Regions from separate parts of the Homo sapiens genome. Here region 1 is linked to region 2. Evidence: promoter capture Hi-C in 16 types of primary human blood cells and fetal thymus (Javierre and others, 2016). All regions are on one chromosome and are shown on one strand. Each heading gives the region's core, a stretch centred on a gene start or on the middle of the fragment in contact. The rest is flanking DNA. Distances are from core to core; before and after follow the strand shown. Region 1 overlaps CNOT2 (CCR4-NOT transcription complex subunit 2). Region 2 holds the start of LYZ (lysozyme).

Region 1 (3,627 bases), core at 142-2,641, 1.0 Mb before region 2:
AGATTGATCTTTTTTTCTCTTCCTATGAAACGCTGCTGTTCAAACAGCCAGAGTGAATTGTCTCAGTTCACTTCTTTTAAGTCCCATCACATTCACTTGGGTATGGATGTCCTTGGCTGCTGAAAATCTGGCCCTTTTAGTGCACAGGGCGACAAAGTCCCCTGACCAGCAGTTCCAGAATGTCCCATTTTCATATATTGCATCCATGCACACCTCCTAAAAATGAGGTACAGCAGGGCAAACATTTTCCAAAATAGATGTCATATATATAATATATACACATTCGTACATACATACCTTTATTCATGTGATGTCCAAAAATTTAAAAAAAATGTACACATTTATTACAAAATCGTAACAAAGACTGGACAGTGTTTTGCTCATTCTGGAAAGATGAAGCTCAGTAATAACACAACCCTGGAAAACCATCCAGAGATTGTGGCAATATCTTTCTTCTAAACAGTCAGATATTCTTGCATTAAGCTTGGCGAAACTGCCTTTCAAAAACAGAAGGGGAAGTAAAATGAAGGAAGCAGACCTCTTGCTCATCTTTCCAAATGAAATACGAGAAGGATCTTCACATAAAAATGCACAAACATTTGTTATTTTATTACCAATAGTGCTACAATGAACAATGCAAAATTTGTGGTCTAATTTTCTTGAGTCTTTTGGGGGTTTTCTTTTTTACATTTTAGAAACTATGGTAAACTTCTGTCAGTGTATTTGCTTGTCTTTACAGACTCAAGTCTGTCTGCTGGCAAAAAAGGAAATAAATGAAAAAATTCAGACCCTGCTCAAACTAGAGAAAAACAAATTACAAATTTAGTTGTTGGGCAGCACATAATTAGTAAGGCAGGACCTCAAATGGTGACCTTTTGCGTAAGCCAATTGCCAGATCCTCAAGGAATTAAAACCAGGGTGCCTGAGCCACATCAGTTCTGCAGTTATGTTGAGTATTGTGCTGAGACAGCCATACCCCAAGAAAAGGGAAGTCTTTTTTTTTTTTTTTTTTTTTTTTTAGAAGGCTTGCTGAGCAGGGTTGTAGTTGAAGGTGGATGGCAGGTGAGGCCGTTCTTCTAATTTGTCATATTCCAGATGGAACTCCTATAAAAACAAATTCAAGAATTTAGATATCTTCCCCTTTTCATTTTACATTTGTCAAAATACATTTTACTATAAAAATAAATAAAATACCCAATATATATGAATCAACATCAACACAGATATACCAACTGTTTTTCCTCTACATAAAATACAGCTTGAAGAAAAATAATGTGCTGTAGTTTCTAACCAATGAGTACAAAAAATACAGACAGGCTTTCTGTGTGTAAGTCAAGAGACTACTAATGGACCACTTGACACTGAAATGTTGTGTATTGTTTTTAACTTAAAAAAAGAGGGGGCAATTACTGTATCTCTGAATCACTGGAAATTACAGGATATTTAAAATAAAGCCCCCTTCAACGAAGTATAAAAACCTAAAGATTTTGTCCATGAAAAAAGTTTAGAAATAATTTTCCAAATTGTCTTTATTACATTTATATTAAAAAATAAGCAGGGCCGCGCACAGTGGCTCACGTCTGTAATCCCAGCACTTTGGGAGGCTTAGGTGGGCAGATCACGAGGTCAGGAGATCAAGACCATCTTTACCAATCAACATGGTGAAACCCCGTCTGTACTAAAAATACAAAAATTAGCTGGGCGTAGTGGTGCACGCCTGTAGTAGCAGCTACTCAGGAGGCTGAGGCAGGAGAATCGCTTGAACCTGGCAGGTGGAGGTTGCAGTGAGCCAAGATTGCACCACTGCACTCCAGCCCAGATGACAAAGCAAGACTCCGTCTAAAAAAAAAAAAAAAAGGAAAACACATAAAATTATTCTAACCTCATTAAAATCTGGGGAAAATAATGAACTTAAAACTCACACATCACTAGACTTGCATTTCACAAACCCAAAACCCTGACTCAAATATAAATCAACTGCCACCGAAAACTAGACAATGGTTCTGCTGTAGGAACATTTGAAAACTAGATAGCAGCTCACTTTAATCAAACTTTCAAAATACTGTATTAACTTCATGAGTTTTAAAATTTAAGAATGGTGACATAATTTCTTCATGATACTTCCCACCCAAGATCAAGAATAGAGATGCAGAATAGCTATGTATATTAGAAAAAAATGCAAACAACAAATACCTCTGCAACCCCAATAAGCAAGAGGCTCTAAAAGCCTCTTACCAATTCTACCATCTGAATTAGCACAAATTACTGCATAATCCAACTTAAAGAATTATGAAGCTTAATATGTATTATGTATTAAAGATTAAGGCAACAAGTGACATTAGCTACCATGGGTTAACATATTTTACCTTATCTGTCTGGTTTCAAACTGATTCCATGATGAGTATTTCCATTATTAAATTAAAATGAAAACCTAGACTATAATGACCAAATTTTAAGATGGAACACCAAGTATTTAAAATTTAAAGATATTACACTTAAATAAATTTAAAGATATTACAGACCTAACAGCAGAATTTATTGAAAGCCTAGTATGTGCTAAAATTAGAGATACAGCTAATTTTATTCTAATCTTTGTAATAATTCTGTAAAGCAGATATCATTATTTTCATTTTGTACCTGAAGAAAATGAGGCTTACAAGTAACTTGGACAAGTCATCAGTAAGCGGCACACCTAGCATTAGGATCCAGACCCATGTGACAAAAAGCCTCCATGTGACAAAAAGCCTGTGTCTTTTGTAGTGTAACACATTATTTTTAATATTTTTAGTCCAAGATCCAAAACAGATTCATTTACTTCATTACAAGGCAATCCAGAAATGCTGAAAGAATTCAGTCCCCTTCTCTCTTGGTATAAGGTGAAGAAAAAGGAAAAAAAAAATCAGTCCCCTGAGAGTTTATAAAGAAGGTACACCATGGTGACTTTAGCCTGAAAAGGTTGCCTTCATGTGACTGGTACAGTAATTAAGACACAGAGGTTATTTGCTTATCAGTAAAAATTAGCAAACACCAGAATCACCACCACAACCATGACATCCTGCCCTAATACACTGTGTAGCACTACTCCCCCTCTCCCAGCCCTAGCTAGGAATTAAAATAATTTTATTGCTTGGTTCAAGTTGACTATCTGAATTCGTGAAGAAAATTTGTTATCATTCTTCTGAAATTAAAATTGGCATTTTTGTTTTCAAAATGTGTAGTTACAGGGAAAAAAAGTCTAATTGTAACTTCCACAAAGTGGTAAGTTATACTGAGTAAGTTAACTAAAATTTTTCACATTGATGAACTACAATGTATGACTAGGAATTCAAACTAGATTAACTTTATCAATGTACATTTTCCCCCAGAAAAATATAGTTTAAACCTAAGCAGCGTAAATAATTTTGATATAGAGATTTAGAAATTTTGATATAGAGATCAGAGATTTAGAAATTACATAGGTAAAATTTTGCCTTCCACGTTTTAAAATCTTGTTTTCCACGTACTTTTATTCTTCTTAAAATACATAAGTTACTTTGATTACTGGTAACACCATTTACATGTTTGTTATATATACACACACATACTACACACATGCACAACCTCATACATTCTGTAGGAGCAAGTGTC
Region 2 (3,715 bases), core at 852-3,351:
ACTTCTGTATATTAAAAAACATCAACCTTTTATGATACCACTTCTTTAATTTCTTACTCAGGGAATTATGAGGAAAATAATAATGACTTTCTGGAAGTTGAGATGTAGTTTTTCTAGGTCCCTCATGAACCTTTCAAGGCTTTTTCATTTGTATTGAGTCTCAATTCTTGTAAGTATAACCAGATTGGTCAAATATTAGCTTGTCTTACCACTGCAGGATAAATGACAGGCATTAACTGCTCCTGGGGTTTTGCCATCATTACACCAGTAGCGGCTATTGATCTGAAATATCCCATAATCAGTGCTTCTGTCTCCAGCATTGTAGTTTGTAGCTCGTGTGTTGTAACCACTCTCCCATTTGGCCAAACACATCCCTGAAAAGAACTTATTTTTAGTAATAAACAGCAACACTAAGTGACTTATACTCTATAGCAAAATCAGTTCTACTTAGCTACTTCTATTTTACTGATTTGTTTTATAAGTATAAAGATTTACTTATAAAATATCTTAGCACTTTAGTGTTAAGATAAGGGACTTGTAAGAGAATCCTTTTGTAATGCAAATCATCTTGTAACACCAACGAACAATATAACATACTTTTAAAATATTAAAATACATGTTTGTTCCATTGCTTTTACCCTTCCCGTGCTCCCATCCCTCAGGCAACATTCAGCCAAGAACAGAAAAATCAACAGAGCTGTTGAGTAGATTTTGTAAATTCATAGCAGATACATAGGCTGATGGAAAAATGCTTTTTTTAATCAGAAAAACATAAGGATTTTCTGATAGAAATTTTCTTATAATATCTAAAGGTGAATTTGGATATCAAGTTAGAATCTTGAAAACAAGACTATTCCGTGATTTCATCCCTTCACTCATTCATTCAAAAATAGCTATTGAGGGGAAATGTCTGAATTCAATCTGAAAACTACAGAGATTATTACATCGACAACTATGTACTAAACTATAAAATAACTTTTCCTCATGGCACATCTTGAATTGTGTGGGAGAAAATGAAAGATAGTTAATCAAGTAGAGTAGATAAAAATAATAAAACATTTCATGCTGAGTTTCTGGGATCCTATACAAAGAGTGACTGAAGGGAACTAGGTTCCTACTGCTCTTGTGTAGGGAATTCAATATATTCTTTAAAAACATCACTGTTAAAAATCCCATGTCGGCTGGGTGCAGTGGTTCACACCTGTAATCCTACCACTTTGGGAGGCTGAGGTGGGCAGATCATTTGAGGCCAGGAGTTCAAGACCAGCTTGGCCAACATGGTGAAACCCCATCTGTACTGAAAATACAAAAAATTAGCTGGGTGTGGTGGTACACACCTGTAGTCACAGCTACTCAGAAGGCTGAAGCACGAGAATCACTTGAGCCCAGAAGGCAGAGGTTGCAGTGAGCTGAGATCATGCCACTGCACTCCAGCCTGGGCCACACAGTGAGACTGTCTTTAAAAATAAAATAAAATAAAATAAAAATAAAAATAAAAATCCCACATCACGGCAGGGGACTTGAAGACAAGAAAAATACTGCATCACTCTAGGCTCTCAGAGCCCAAGTTCAAAATGGGAAATAACTGGAGTCACATACCAAGGACTTGAGAGAGCTCTGCCAGGTCCTCAAATGTATCTTTCAGTCAGCTTACATGTGCCATTGAATCTCAGGCACCCAGCAAACTTCCTAGCACTAGAACAGTACAACAGGTCCTGTTTTACTTAGAATGGAATTTTCCCCTGCCATGCCCGTATTCCTTTATCGGGTATCTCTGGTTATAAAGAACCAAACTGATGTTTTTAGCCATTGTAAGTATACAAACCCACAAAGAAATAAAACATCTATTCACTCAAAGCCCCTTCTTCTTCTTCCTTCTCTCCTAGTGTCTGTTCCATACGTAGCTAATTCTCTGGAATTATGGAGAGTAGACTTACAGTTTGCTAGGCTGATTCCCCTGTAGCCATCCATTCCCAATCTTTTCAGAGTTCTGGCCAACTCACACCTTTCAAAGACCTTGCCCTGGACCGTAACAGAAAGGAGGACAAGCCCCAGAACAATGAGAGCCTTCATGTTGACTGCTAGGTCAGAGTGCTAGGCTGACCAGGGTGAGCTGGCCCCAGTATTTAACATCTTTTAACTTCCTTCTTCCCCTTGTGGTTTGGGGGCTCCACCCTTTCAGTTGTGTGGAAAACAGGAACTGTCTATTGATCCACTGACTCTAAAGAGATTTTTTTAATGCTTGAAGAGAGATATGCTGATGTCCTAAGAATTAGTCTACAGGAAAATAATGAAATGGAATTGTTTAAAGTACTGGCTCTGGAAGAATTGGGGCATAGCACTACTTCCAAGACAGGAACTTTCTTCTGTTTGATTATGAATTTGAGCAATTATAAAGAAAAAAATGACTATTTTGTGCAGCTTAAAATGAGCTGTGATTTTTGAGTAACATTCAATTTTGTGAAATTGTTTTGTATGCATTCACTTTTTTATATTTATCTTTTTTACTTAAAATTATTTTACATATCTTTTCCACAAAATGGACATGACACATGTGCCTGTTGTCTTAATGGGTGTATAGTGTGACACCACGTTGCTCAGCTAGTTTCTTACTCTAGACTCTTTTTGTTACTATAGCAAATTTTTTATTATTATAAATCAGTGTTTTACTATTATAAATAAGGTTCATGTGAACAACTTTACCAACTACCTTTTTTTTTTTTTTTTTGAGATGGAGTCTTACTCTGTCACCAGGCTGGAGTGCAGTGGCGCAATCTCAGTTCATTGCAACCTCTGCCTCCCGGGTTCAAGCAATTCTCCTGCCTCAGCCTCCCAGGTAGCTGGGACTACAGGCATGTACCACCATGCCCAGCTAATTTTTGTATTTTTAGTAGAGACAGGGTTTCACCATGTGGCCAGGATGGTCTGGATCTCTTGACCTCGTGATCCGCCCGCCTCGGCCTTCCAAAGTGCTGGGATTACAGGTGTGAGCCACCACATCCGGCCTACTTTACCAACTACTTTTCACAATACTTTGCCTCCCCTTTCCATATTAGAACATAAGGGGTCATTAGAAAGCAACAGCATTTTAAAAATAAAACCTACCCAAACATATATCCAACTAAATGCTACCTTTGAAAATAGCAATCTCAGGAGGCTGTGCACAGCTTTTAAAACAATGCTACCAGAACTCAAAAAGAACTGCACTTCTGTATCTGCCTAAGAGGACAGATTCTGAGCCACACAAAGTGTCATCACTTTGTAGTTACCCTTATTTTTCATCAGTGGCCTCTAAAGATTACCAGATTTGGTTTTAAATGACAGTTCAAGGACCCTGTTCAAAAATCAAGAATAATCTCATTTTTCAGGCTAGGCCTAATTTTGATTCTTCAATAATAAATAGGGCCAGGTGCAGTGGCTCATGCCTGTAATCCCAGCACTTTGGGAGGCTGAGGTGGGTGGATCACCTGAGGTCAGGCGTTCAAGACCAGCCTGGCCAACATGGTGAAACTCCGTCTCTACTAAAAATACAAAATTAGCTGGGCGTGGTGGTGCGCCTATAATTCCAGCTACTTGGGAGGCTGAGGCAGGAGAATTACTTGAACCCGGGAGGCGGAGGTTGTGGTGAACTGAGATCACACCACTGCACTCCAGCCTGGGCAACAGAGTGAGACTCTGTCTCAAAAAAAAAAAAAAAAAAAAGAAAGAAAAAAAA

Evidence for each region. Contacts are between HindIII fragments. The CHiCAGO score rates a contact against its expected background, and 5 or more counts as called.
Region 1: a fragment that was not itself captured here is called in contact with the fragment with the promoter of LYZ in region 2 in 1 of 17 cell types (M2 macrophages); the score reaches 5.6 in M2 macrophages.

Annotation. Positions count from the first base shown.
Region 1 is chr12:70,351,306-70,354,932 of GRCh38, reverse strand. CNOT2 (CCR4-NOT transcription complex subunit 2) reads right to left here. Exons shown (of 16, transcript NM_014515.7): 16 at 1-1,104. The coding sequence ends at 1,018. Among named protein-coding and RNA genes, the nearest start is that of KCNMB4, 13 kb to the left of the region's middle. RefSeq lists a silencer at 2,698-2,898. The HindIII fragment of the contact is 1,812 bases long and covers 486-2,297 here.
Region 2 is chr12:69,346,767-69,350,481 of GRCh38, reverse strand. It overlaps LYZ (lysozyme), which reads right to left and starts at 2,101. Exons shown (of 4, transcript NM_000239.3): 1 at 1,938-2,101; 2 at 210-374. The coding sequence starts at 2,073. The HindIII fragment of the contact is 11,988 bases long and covers 1-3,715 here.